Regions from separate parts of the Homo sapiens genome. Here region 2 is linked to region 1. The links are contacts of gene promoters, found by promoter capture Hi-C in blood cells and fetal thymus (Javierre and others, 2016). All regions are on one chromosome and are shown on one strand. Each heading gives the region's core, a stretch centred on a gene start or on the middle of the fragment in contact. The rest is flanking DNA. Distances are from core to core; before and after follow the strand shown. Region 1 holds the start of CDH19 (cadherin 19). Region 2 has its middle 120 kb from the start of CDH19.

Evidence for each region. The method cuts DNA at HindIII sites, captures the fragments that hold promoters and counts their contacts. A CHiCAGO score of 5 or more calls a contact.
Region 2: a contact is called between a fragment that was not itself captured here and the fragment with the promoter of CDH19 in region 1, in 1 of 17 cell types (M0 macrophages). The highest score is 5.8, in M0 macrophages.

What each region holds. Positions count from the first base shown.
Region 1 is chr18:66,602,725-66,608,890 of GRCh38, reverse strand. CDH19 (cadherin 19) reads left to right here and starts at 4,801. Exons shown (of 12, transcript NM_021153.4): 1 at 4,801-4,937. The HindIII fragment of the contact is 9,771 bases long and covers 3,030-6,166 here.
Region 2 is chr18:66,721,450-66,728,546 of GRCh38, reverse strand. No RefSeq gene overlaps it. Among named protein-coding and RNA genes, the nearest start is that of CDH19, 120 kb to the right of the region's middle. The HindIII fragment of the contact is 2,687 bases long and covers 1,679-4,365 here.

The DNA.
Region 1 (6,166 bases), core at 3,552-6,051:
ACCCTGTGATTTCTCGTCTCAATAAAAATTTAATTAAATAAAAATTTACTTTATGTAATACATTGGGCTAGGGATTATAATGATAGAAACACAAGACGCTGGTCAACCATGTGTAGTCAAATAAGTGGTTGGTCAGAGTCTTGTCTTTGTATCATTATGACTTGTAGAACAATACATTGCATAAACATAATAGGTGATGATAGACTATAGATAGATACATAGATAGATTAGAGAGATGATAGATGACAGATAACTTCACATCTTTTATAATATTACAATTCTAAATGATGCCAGAGAGAATGTTTATAATGCTGATGTGCATGATCTATAAATTTAAGAAGTAACCAAAATTTTATAAAAACATGGAAACTCTTCCAGAAATTAAATGTTCATATTAATATTGTCCTGGTGAAAGAAAAAGTAAAAGTTAATCTACCGTTTCAAAGAGGTTGGTGCCTAGGTGAGATGTTTCTAATAAATTCTGGTAATATAAACAGAAAACAAGGCTGACATACCTCTACACGTTTATGTCTGAATTTAAGTATTTTGGGTTGTTTGTTTGCATATTGACAATTACTAAATTATTCTTGTAATGAGCCTTTTTTGTTATTTATACATTTATTCATTGTTAATTACTATAATGGATTTCTTCCGTCATGGAGATTATGTTGCGGCTTGGCAAATATACATACATATATATATTTCTTAAATATACTGCTCCAGAGAAAAGTCTTCTTACAAAAGAAAATAAAAACAAAACAACTTTGGGAGGCCGAGGCGGGCAGATCACGAGGTCAGGAGATCGAGACCATCCTGGCTAACACGGTGAAACCCCGCCTCTACTAAAAATACAAAAAATTAGCCGGGCATGGTGGCAGGTGCCTGTACTCCCAGCTATTAGGGAGGCTGAGGCAGGAGAATGGCTTGAACCCAAGAGGCGGAGCTTGCAGTGAGCCGAGATCGCCCCACTGCACTCCAGCCAGGGTGACCGAGCAAGACTCCGTCTCAAAAAACAAACAAACAAATAAATAAATGAATTAATTAATTAATTAAATATAAAAAGAAAAAGAAAAAAGAATGAATACAAAAATAAGAAAATAAGGACATATATATGACAATAAAATTTTTTATTATATTAGACAAGTGGCTACTGTAACTAGAATTTAAAAGATAAATCTTCAAACCATACAAATTGTTGCCATATTCAAGACAATATTTCTTTACTCTGAGCAAAATTTGTGTAATTTTGATACAAAGTATTTTAGCATGGTTAGAAGTATATAGATTAGTGAATATTTTGTTTATTGTTTGTTCTATCATTGTGCATTTTTTTATTTCCCCATATTTATCATTGTGATATATATTCAATGTTAAAAACAGAATGGAAAACACAGCAAATTGGACTGTTGGAAAAGAATGCCATTTAATGGCAATCCATGGAGAAAATTATTATTTTTATTTTCAGCATTTTAAAAGCTATTTTACATGAATATCTGAAGTGAACACTGGACGTCTAGTTGGTTATCAACTAGATTCAACCACTCCACTCTAATTTGGGGAAATGAATCTGTTTTTCTATCAACTAACTCTTTCTCTCAGGTTCAGGAATGACAATTACTTTAAGCTTTTCTTGTTGCCATTCTTTGTTCATGCATGGACAAGTGATCATTTTGATGAATAAGACGAAAGTGACAGTGTTTTTGAGGGCCTTGAGGAAAAGTTGGAGAACCAAACAGAGCCCAAGAACCTAGATAACTGATTGCAGTAGGAAGCCACTGGATCAACTAACCCTTAACCCTACTTTATTTCTCTATGTATACATTGAATTTCTTCATTATTCTATTCATTTTTGGATTTGATTTTGTTTGATTTTGCTATCTGCTTGCTAGTCAATAGATTTCTCATTGATATAGTGATAGCATACAGTAAATATCTGTTTTAAATGTTCTTGTATTAACATATTATAAGCTTTTCCCAAAACAACTTAAATATATTTTTAAGAACTAAAATGCTTCCAGACCATGTGAGAAGGATGTGGTCCTTAGATTATGCTATCCTGACAACACCTGATTGGACAAGGCCTAAATTTCTAATTGAAGGCACATGTATAGCCTATGATATAAAGTAGGTAGACTTAAACTTTCTGGTTAAATGTCTATTTTCAAGGGACAGATCAGAGCTTGCATAATGTTTGACTTTCCATTTCTGCCTGTTCAGTTAAATTCAAACTTCATTAGCCAGTCTTGTCTGCGGTTAGTCATTAGATATATATTTCTTAATTATCTGGTTTAAAAAATTGGTGGCTCTGAATTATAATACTTGAATTCAAATTTTTATTTAGAGTAACTCAATACAATCCTGGCTTCTGCAACTTCAAGCTCTGTTCCTTAGCCTGCTGGCAGGTGATAACTGTGAAATTCCCCCAGACTGCATGTGAAAATAGACCAGAATGTCACTGTGCAGCTATAAAACATCACTTGTGTTTCGGGAATTGTCCATCCTGCCACATGTTTACTGCTGTGGGGACCTCAGATAACTCTGAGTATGATAACTCTGACTTACATATGGATAGTAGTGTATTTAATTTTGAGCTTCTGTTCTTACACAGTCATGTTCCATTTACTATGTATTACCCCCCCATATATGAAAAATTAGTCAGATATATTTCTCTTGTTATAAAGAAAATGACGTAGAAGTAATCATTAAGCTGGGCCGGGTACGGTGGCTCAAGCCTGTAATCCCAGCACTTTGGGAGGCCAAGGCGGGCGGATCACGAGTCAGGAGATCGAGACCATCCTGGCTAACATGGTGAAACCCCGTCTCTACTAAAAATACAAAAAAATTAGCAGGGCGTGGTGGCGGGCGCCTGTAGTCCCAGCTACTCGGGAGGCTGAGGCAGGAGAATGGCGTGAACCCGGGAGGTGGAGCTTGCAGTGAGCCGAGATTGCGCCACTGCACTCCAGCCTGGGCGACAGAGAGAGATTCCATCTCAAAAAAAAAAAAAAAAAAAAAGAAGTAATCACTAAGCTTATCTGATGACCAGTCCCCTAAGTACTTCCAAGTCTTCATTCTTGGTTGTGGCATAGCGGATGAATCTTGCTGGATCCTTGGCTATCGGCTGTTCATCTTATATCCTCTTCCAGAAAGGGCATGCATTTCTTAAGCAATTTACAGCAACTAGTTCCTGTACGTGTTTGATAATAGATTATCTATTTAATAAAATCAGTTTGCTGTTAATGATATTCTACATAAAACATGTAGTTTCACACTGTACCTTCTTTAGAAAATTTAATCCTGTCTCACTGTGGTTTCTATAGTTGCCATTGCTCTTTATTGGTACTGTAATAATCAGGGCAGCAAATTGTGACCCACCTTTGCTCCCTTAGGCTCTAAAATAAGCCTTTGGGACATCATGTTTACAGGTACACTGAGGCTCTAAACTGTGGTTTCAATCCTAAGTGCAACTGGATATTTTATAAACATCAAGATATAAATTGGCATCTCATAAAATGTTAGATTCTTACAGAAATCCTAGACTAGGTCATAGACAGAACAGTGAATTATGTAAATAAATATTTTAAACAGGTATCTCCACCTTTTTTGATACTGTAAAAAATATGAAGGGGGAAATGTATAAGAATACTTCAGAGGTTCTTTGTAAAATTTATTTTTTCCCTATTTACTAACATCTTGAAACACTTAGAAGTGTTTTTTTCTAGCTGAATGCTTTTTTCTACCTGAAAAAATAAAATATTTCCACATTATACTGTTCCTGCTATCCACAGATCTATTCTCCCAGGTTCATCTCTTCAAGATTTGTTCATAAATTATTGATTCCTCCTAATATTCACAACCTCATAGGATGTGCATTTGTGCGTGTGTGTGCATATGTATGTGTGTGCACATGTATGTGTATGCATGTGTGCACATGTGCATGTGTGTATATGTGTGTGCTTGAGTGTCCTACTTTACTGCCCATATAGCTTTTGCCATTTCTTTCCTCAAAAGCTAAGAGGATAGTGACCAAAATATCTATCAGAATTAACAGGATGCTTGAATAATCCTGCCCCACATAGACTTTCTTATTATATAGGTATAATTTAAGAAACTTTTAATATTTTAATGTTTCTCTAGTTTGGTTCAAAAATGGTTTTTAAGTAAATAACAGCTTGAGTAAACAGCATAGAAAATACATATGTATTTTATGTTAAATAATAATAGCTTATATCAAAATCTAATTATAACCATGAATAAAATAAAAGATTTTACATAATAATAAACCAAGGAAAAGAAAAGGACTTATTAAAGTTTAGACATTTCTCTCTCATTATGTCTTTACTTGATTTCTGAGGAGAAATGACCGAATTAAGAAACAGCCATGAGGCATAGACACACAGTGGAAAATCATTTCTCTTTTCAGTAAGTTTTGGGTCTGCTTTAAATTGATCATTTGTTTCATCAGCTAATCCCCAAACAGAGGGCACGTCCGCTCTACTTGCAAAATTCTTGTATGTAAGTTGAATTCTCCCTTTATCAACTCAGGCCAATAAGTACTTTATTTTGTTTTTGCTTGTTGTTAGGGGAAAAAAAAAAAAAACAAAGATAATCAGCTCATACTACTTGCGTAGCTGTCTGCATTTTAATTCCAGACTATGAACGAGCGTCAGAGTGCCCTTATGATATTTTGCACAAAAGGCTCAGTGTTTATGACTCTACTCAGAGAACCCAAAATAGCATTGAGTAAGCAGTGACATACTGACAGTGTTGTGGTACTAAAAGCACAAGCGTCTGTAACTCTGGGCAATGGGGCACATCGAGAGTTTGCTGAGAAGACTGTGAAGCAAAAAGAAGAAAGTTTTTCCTACTCTTCCTTATGTGTCCAACACGAAGTTTGCTGTTCAGTTTTCACAGAACTTCTAGAAGTTGAAGTTACAAAGGTAAGACTGTGATAATCAGGCATATTATAAACTACATGCATCATCTTTAATGAGTCAATAGGTCAAAAAGTACATGACAAAATGTTGCTAGGAAAATATTCTAAAAATATTAAGGAAAATATTTACATAGGAAATAAGGAAAATATTCTAAAAATTTTAAAACCATGATGTGTACTTGTACTGAACTTTCTCAAAACACGTATTTGTGAGAACAGTTCTCCATCTCTGTAATACAGATTGTTGGTGTTGGGGGGAAGTTACACCTATGTTAGGATATTTAAAACTTCTCAAGTTTCTTAGAATAAATGAATCAACCTTTCTTTGCATGTCTTTCTTTGCACTTTTTTCTTTGTTCAGGGTTTTATTTTTTATTTATCATGTATTTACCATGTATATCAGGTAATATGAACAATAGAGTTGTCATCATTAAGTATATGAGAAAAAATATATACAGAATAAATATGAAAAATTTTAAGTATATTATAATTCCAAAAAAATTAAAATATTAGCATTGCTATGAATAAAAACACATATATGCCTAAAATTGTACAGGCATATTAATTTACCTATATGTATTATAACATTTATACATAACACAAAAGGTAATTTCTCAAATATGAAAGTATAAATTAAGAAAAGTATAAATTAGGAAAATGCATACTGTAAAAGACATTTTATATTGTTTCAATTCTAATTTGGTACATGCAATTTTAATTGAATAACTAATTATAATAAAATATTTCAAAATAAGTTTACCAAAGGGATTTAATAAATCTATTAAATATAAAAACATAAAATATTTAGCAACAAAAAATACCTAAATAGAGTGGCAAAGGTTTTCTTTAGATTATGTCAATTTATATTTTAGCTCTATTAATTCATTTGTTGAATTAATATATCTGTAAGAAAGACATTATTTAGATAAAATATTTGAAAATTTAGTAATATATATTTATGTTTTAGATGTAGTTACAATATTAAGTAAAATTATATGCATTAATATATTCTTTTTTCAAATTCTTAATATTGTAATTATCAGCAGTATGCCTACTTACTATAATTTTTGATTTCAAAGAATTTAAATTTCAATGTAATGTGAACATTTATATTGACCAAATAAAATAACTAACAATTTATTTTTAAAAGGAATAAGCATTTCATTATTGTCTGCAATTATTCAAAATTTTTAAACAATCAATTTATGTCATTTAGAAACCACCAGATCTCCT
Region 2 (7,097 bases), core at 1,773-4,272, 120 kb before region 1:
AATTTCTAAAAGTTTTCTAAAAATGAACATGAAATTTTATTTTTCATGTGCATCAGCTACACTTTGATTTCTTGAATGTAGCAAATGTTTATAGTATATGTAATCTGGACATATTTTGAATATAATATTTATTATAATGTTGTGTTTTGAAATACTAATACATTTGTAAAAATGTCAACATCAACTTCATGGTCATTAGTTTTTCTCTGTGAAATGGTATTCAAATCCTTCAAGAAAACAGGTGTGAAAAACACTTGATACAGGAAAATAAAATTGAATATGATAAAAACACAGAAGGTGTTTCATCACAAGCTCAGCAAGTGCAAGTGGTGTATCTAAAGATTGTGCAAGTCAGGAACCACTGTCACATCCTGTTGCATTAACCAGCTCCCATTATGCCAAAGTATCTTCATTCTTTCTATATTTGATTTCTGCTCTTAAGTAGGGGCCAGAAATCATCATTTGCTTTGAATATTCTGATAGAGGTGAACTCTCAGCTACCACCAATTAAATGCCTTTCAATATAGTCTTGACTTCTATACTAGGGAATATCCGGGCCCCTTCTACAACTAATTCTGAATATGCTTTGGCATTATTTTCAAGTTATCCCAATCTGGACAGAAAAATTGGAGGATTCTTGGTCTCTTAGGCACCACGGTATCTCGGGAGTCTGTAAAGTTTGCTGCACATTTTTCAAGGATAGATTTAATTTTTATTTTCTTCTTTACACTTCCTGCATTTTGCAGTGATAGTTTTATTCTTATGGCTGCATATACAAAAAAATTCTTTTTATTTCTAATATACATAGAGTAAAACACATACACACAAAGACACACATACATACATAGACAATATATATTTTTGATGTCTCCTAGATTAATTTTCTCATGAATATTCCTTACTTTTCAAAATTGTTTTGTAAGCTAAGGAGCATAACTTGTGTTTTCATTCTTAAAAGCATATAGTTAATAATAATGTATATTGCATATTTCAAAGTAAGTAGAAGAGAGGACTTTAAATGTTCTAATCACAAAAAATATAATGACAGGCGGAAAGGCGCGGTGGCTCATGCCTGTAATCCCAGTACTTTGGGATGCCAAGACGGGCAGATCACTTGAGGTCAGGAGTTCGAGACCAGCCTGGCCAAAATGGTGAAATCCCGTCTCTACTAAAAATACAAAAATTAGCCTGGCGTGGTGGTGCTCGACTGTATTCCCAGCTACTTAGGAGGCTGAGGCATGAGAATCACTTGAATCCGGGAGGCAGAGGTTGCAGTGAGCCAAGATTGCACCCTGCTCTCCAGCCCAGAAGGTAGAGTGAAACTGTGTCTCATAAAAAAAAAAAAAAGTGTTCGAAGTGATGGATATGTTAATTACCCTGATTTGATCATTGCACAATGTATCCATGTATTGAAACATAACATAGTCCACCAATAATATGTACAATTATCATCTGTCAATTACAAACAAAAATAAATATTATTTTAAAAGCACACAGTGAAATATTTTCATATACAACTCACTGAAAAAAACATAATGGTCAAGATTTATCAAATCTTAACTTGTGGGAGAGTTTGTGCTAAGTGAAATTACCATCTCTAGTTGTTAGATGAAATGAGTGAGGCTTTGGTTAAATGAGTTGAGGTCACAGGGCCTGCAAGACAATGCATGTTAAAGCTTAGTCTATTCGATTTCAAGATCATGCATTTCATTTATTTGCAAGTGTCACCCTATTATTTTCTGCCATTCTGTTTATAATGGTTTATACCAACTGAGCATATCAGAAATATATACTGTAATCCAAAATAAACTTCTTTAAGTTTCATCTTGCAGCTTTTCCCCAATTTTGTGAATGTATGATTCAGGATTTTGGGTGCGTTCCATGAGTTTTGCACACTAGTTTGATCAGCCACAGATAACCTGTGAGCTATGTGTGTAGCTATAATCCGTGTGCTGTGTATGCATTTGATTCATTTACCTGCAGTGGCCAGGCATCAGTCAAACTGTGACCAATCTATTGTCCTCATCAAGGCATGGGAGCCTTTGCCCTTCATTTGCCTTCTCTGATTCCTCCATTGCCTGCTTTTGCTGTGAAAAGACAGCTAGATTAGAGCAGGGCCCTGCCTTCCAGGGACTCACATCTAGTAGGAAAGAAAAGGCAAAGGCATAAGTTGATGAGTGAATTTTAAAATGTAGTAGAATCATATAGTACATGTTCTGGGAGTGTTTCAATGCCACCCTCCTCTCCACCATCATGTCCTTGCTTTGGAGATCTTATAAGCATTTGACACAGTGTTCTACTTTCCCTTAGATTTTCCTATTTCTCTTTCTGGCTGCAGACCCTACAGCACAGGCTACTCACAAGATACTCCTGCACTGCTCAGGTAATATTTCCAACAACCTGTGGGGCCCTCTCTCCTGAGTCACAAGTGCCTTTATGTTATTAGGTTTCTCCTATAAACCACCATCCTAAAATAAATACATAAATAAAATGCTATGGTAAGATAAATTAATTAAACTAAACTAGCATAGTATGTATTTATCTGGCACCTTTGCTTTGGTAAGCTGGCTGGAAGGGTTTAACCAACTCTCCTCTACCCACCCAGAGAAAATGGCTCAGGATCTGTCACAGAGCTCTGGGAATCAGATATGTGAACAAGCACTATGAGCCTTCCAGTGCACCAGCTGGCATGATCCCACCCTGGAGGAGGGCCTCAGCTACCCCATTTATCTTATAAGTAGCAAAGCAATGTTTAAGTTTTATTTGTTTGTTTATTCATTTATTTATTTATTTATTTAGAGACAGTGTCTCACTCTGTGGTCCAGGCTGAGTGCAGTGGCATGATCACGGCTCACTGCAGCCTCAAACCCCTGGGCTCAAGCAAGCCTCCTGCCTCAGCCTCCCAAATAGCTGAGACTACAAGCATGTGCCACATGCCTAGAACAGTTATTATTATGATTATTTGTAGAGATTGGGTCTTTCTATGTTGCCCAGGCTGGTGTCAAACTCCTAGACACAAGCAATTCTCCCACCTCAGTTTCCCAAAGTGCTGGGATTATAGGCGTGAGCCATTATGCCCAACCACAATGCTACAGTTTCTTATTATGCCTTAAAACATACACTTTTATTAAACCTGTTTGTGTGGAGAAATATTGTACTAGAGGTGACTTTCAGTGCTTCCTACCAGTTAGACATGGTTAATTCTCTCTTCTATGTTCCTCATAAAAAGCCCTGTGCATATACCATTTATGCCTTTTACAAAAACATATTAAAATGTGAATTGACCTGAGTTTCTTTCATTTAGAAAGTAGGCAATCTGACCGCAAGAGCTAGTTTCATTTGTCCTTGCAGTTTTTATAGCAAAGCCTATGCCTGTCATATATCAGATAGACAAGAGACTTGAACTGTTTTGGGAATGAATGTATCAGAAATCACTCTGTCTTAGTGGTATTTCAGAGAGTACTCTTGATTTTACATTTTCACTGTGACTTCTGAACAATATATTCAAGATCTGTAATAACTCTGTGTTTCCTTGAGAAAAATTTGATTGTAGAACAGTCAAGTTCTACAATAAACAGCTGTTCAAAAAGGCAAATATCTGCGCTTAGGGACTAAGCTGCTCATGGAGTCAGTACTTGTGGTTTGTTTGCAAAGCCGCCTACCTTTGGCATGGTTTCTTGTATTTCCACTTCATTTCTGACTGGGGTGTGGCAACATGAACTTTCTCCTCTTATTGATTCCTAGCAGTTCACAATTCTACCACAAAGCGTGATCTTGTTTTACAATATGTCTTTGTTCAGCTTGCAAAATTCAGGACAGTACATTCTGAAATTCACTATCATTGATATAAACATAGCTTCATCCACAAGAGATATGAGCGTATGCTCTGTTCTCTGTCTTCTGAAGTTTGATTTCTTTCTCATCTGGTTCTTAATGTCATTGCTAATGTTCCTCATTTGGGAATAAATAGGAAGAATTGTAGTGACATTATAATGTGTTGTACAAGACTTTGTATACCTCATATGGGTAATGCTTTTGGAGGCTAGAGGGAAGACTTTTAAAGGATGATATTTGTATTGTCATATTTTTAAAATAAAGTCTCAGAATAAAATGATTTTGCAAAGATGCCTTCTTCATAAAGATTCTGATAAGCAATTGACAGTATAACCTGAGACTGAGAAGAAAATAGTGAATAGAATGTAAAAAAATAACTAGAGTTATTCTTTAATAACCAACCATAGCCAACTTTTTCTAATTAGTTGTGGAGCTTTTTAAAGTATATAGCAGAGATATAATGGCTTTCTACGTCCATTTAATTTTGCAGTTTTGATGTAGTAAAAGATTCTCCCAGAGTCTAAGGAAGCTTTCTGGACCCCTCTCTACTACTAACCTACTTCCCAATCCCTGTTAGAGTTCCACTTTTCCAGAAACCCACGATTACAAGTGTAAGTGCTCTCAGAACATGGCTCTCAGTTTTCTCCCACTTACACTTTCCTTTCAGACTAGAACCCTTCCTATCCCAAAGACTGAAGCAAATGCAACCTACATGCCATCTAAAGCATCAACTTCAGTTACCGTTGATGTAGCTAAAATAGCAAAAGATTTCTTAGAGGAGACAGTCTTTCTTTCTCAGATTTAAATCAGAAAGGGCCCTTTCTGCATGCTAATATTTCACATCTTGGACAGACTGAAAGATCAGCCCTCCAAAGCCAATGAATGCAGTTGTTCATATTGAACAAGCATAGCTTGTAGACTATAATAATCACACACATTTATTTGTCTCAAACTTTACTTTCAACCTAACTTAGTGGAGGAAACATTCATTCTGTCCTGAATGAAATTTCTGCAGGCCCTGAGACTTTTCTGCTCAGCGTAAGATAAAAGACAGGTCAGACATATTCCCCCTTTAGTGTCTCTATTCTTTGGTATGTCTGAATATTTGCTGAATTAAAAAAAAATGATATTTTAAAAGGATTGAAGCCAGGTGCAGTGGTTCATGCTTACCATCCCAGCATTTTGGAAGGCTGAAGTGGATGGATCACTTGAGCTCAGGAGTTCGAGACCAGCCTGGCCAACATGGTGAAACCCCCGTCTCCACTAACAGCACACAAAAAATTAGCTTGACATGGTGTTGGACTCCTGTAATCCCAGCTACTCAAGAGGCTGAGGCAGGAGGATCCCTTGAACCTGGGAGGGGGAGGTTGCAGTCAGCCTGGGTGACAGAACAAGACTCTGTATCAAAAGGAAAAAAAAAAAAAGGATATTGAGACCCACATAAAATAGTACTATTTTCATTTGTGTTTAATTTTTGTTGAAAGTTCAGACGACTTGCTGCTGCTCCTTTTAACTGATTTATGTTATTAAAAAATTGTTGACCCTTGGAGAAATATACTGTTATTTACATCTGATATTTATATGTAGAGGTAAATTTTCTGTAGAAGAGAATCTAGCAAGGATTCTAGGCAGGATTGGCTAGAGAAGAAGGTGAAAAAACCAACACGTATACATCTAAACAATTGGGCCATTCTATCTCCCTCAAATTTTGCTGATATCAAATAGAATGAAGACAGGAAATTGCCCACTAAATGTGGCAACATGGAAGTCAATGTCAGAACGTTCTGACAAATGATAAAGGAAACAATTGTGGTTTATTTCTTGAATAATGTTTTAGAAAAATGAGAACTGTTTTGATTCACTGCAGAACTGGAGAGCTTGGCCGTAGATAGGCAGGGCCGTTATTCCATTCTAACAAGTGGAAAACCATGGTTTCCGGGTACAGTTAGAGTAAGAGATTTAATGGTATCAAGATGAACCATTCCATTTGTTTGCTTCTTTTTCCCTGTTGAAATAAATCAAGGCCATTTCTTACAGGTATGCAATGAAGAAGTTGTACTGGTAATGTAAAGAGAATACTCACTACCACAGTCCTTTCTGAAATTGGGAGAATGCTTTGACTAGAGAAAATTAGCAGGCTTGTTTACCCTGCTGAGTTGCAGTGGTAAATTTCGGTTGATATAAGTCAGAATGGTTGGCATTCAACCTTAAACTGCTCAGAAACAGACATCAAGTAAGTAGAATTAGCATTCAAGGAAACCGTGACAGAGTGGGGGAGAAGGGTGTTGAAGGTGTGTGTAAAAGAATAAATATTTTTTAGAAGCCTCAAAATCCTAGATGAACCATGAGGAATGTGGAGACATGAGGGAGATGGTCAGTGAGTAGTTGAGAGTCTCAATGGATTGGAGGTCCTTGTTGGAGCAAATAATTTCTAGAAATGTGCCCCTTGAATGAATGTTAGCATTCCATTTTAATTATCTATTGATGTTTTAGCTATGGCTGTTTGCATTTTTTCAATATTGCTCTAGAGATTACATTGTGCCTTTTCAACATATTAGTCTGCTTAAAGTTACCATTATACTACTTCACATAAAATAAGTTGAAACAAAATAGTTGCTGCTTTCTCACTGTTTGTGTGATGTGTGTGTAATCATTGTGATATAGAGTTATAATATTTTTCAACAATTGTATATTATTTAAAGAAATTAAGAGAGGAAAATGTATATTTAAAAATATTTGCCTACATATTTGGCATGTCTGCTGCTCCTTCTTCTTCCCTACACATCTGAGTGTCCATCTGGTGTCAGTACTGTGTTGCTGATGGACTTCTTTTAGTGTTTCTAGAAGTATAGGTCTGTTGGTTTAAAAAAAAAGTTTCTCCAATTTTATTTTAATATAATACTTTGCCTTACTGAGAGGTGAAGCCAGCTGGATGTCCTGGGTTGAGTGGGGATTTGGAGAACTTTTCTGTCTAGCTAGAGGATTATAAACACACCAATGAGCACTCTGTAAAAACGCACCAATCACTGCTCTGTGTGTAGATAAAGGATTGTAAACGCATGAATCAGCACTCTGTAAAATGGACCAATCAGCAGGACGTGGGTGGGGACAAATAAGGAAATAAAAGCTGGCCACCCCCCAGCCAGCAGCGGCAACCTGCTCAGGTCCCCATTCCATGCTGTGGAAGCTTTGTTTTTCTTTTTTTTTTTTTAGCATAATTGTTCATTTTTATTTTATTTTTTGTTTCTGAAAAATTTGTTTTT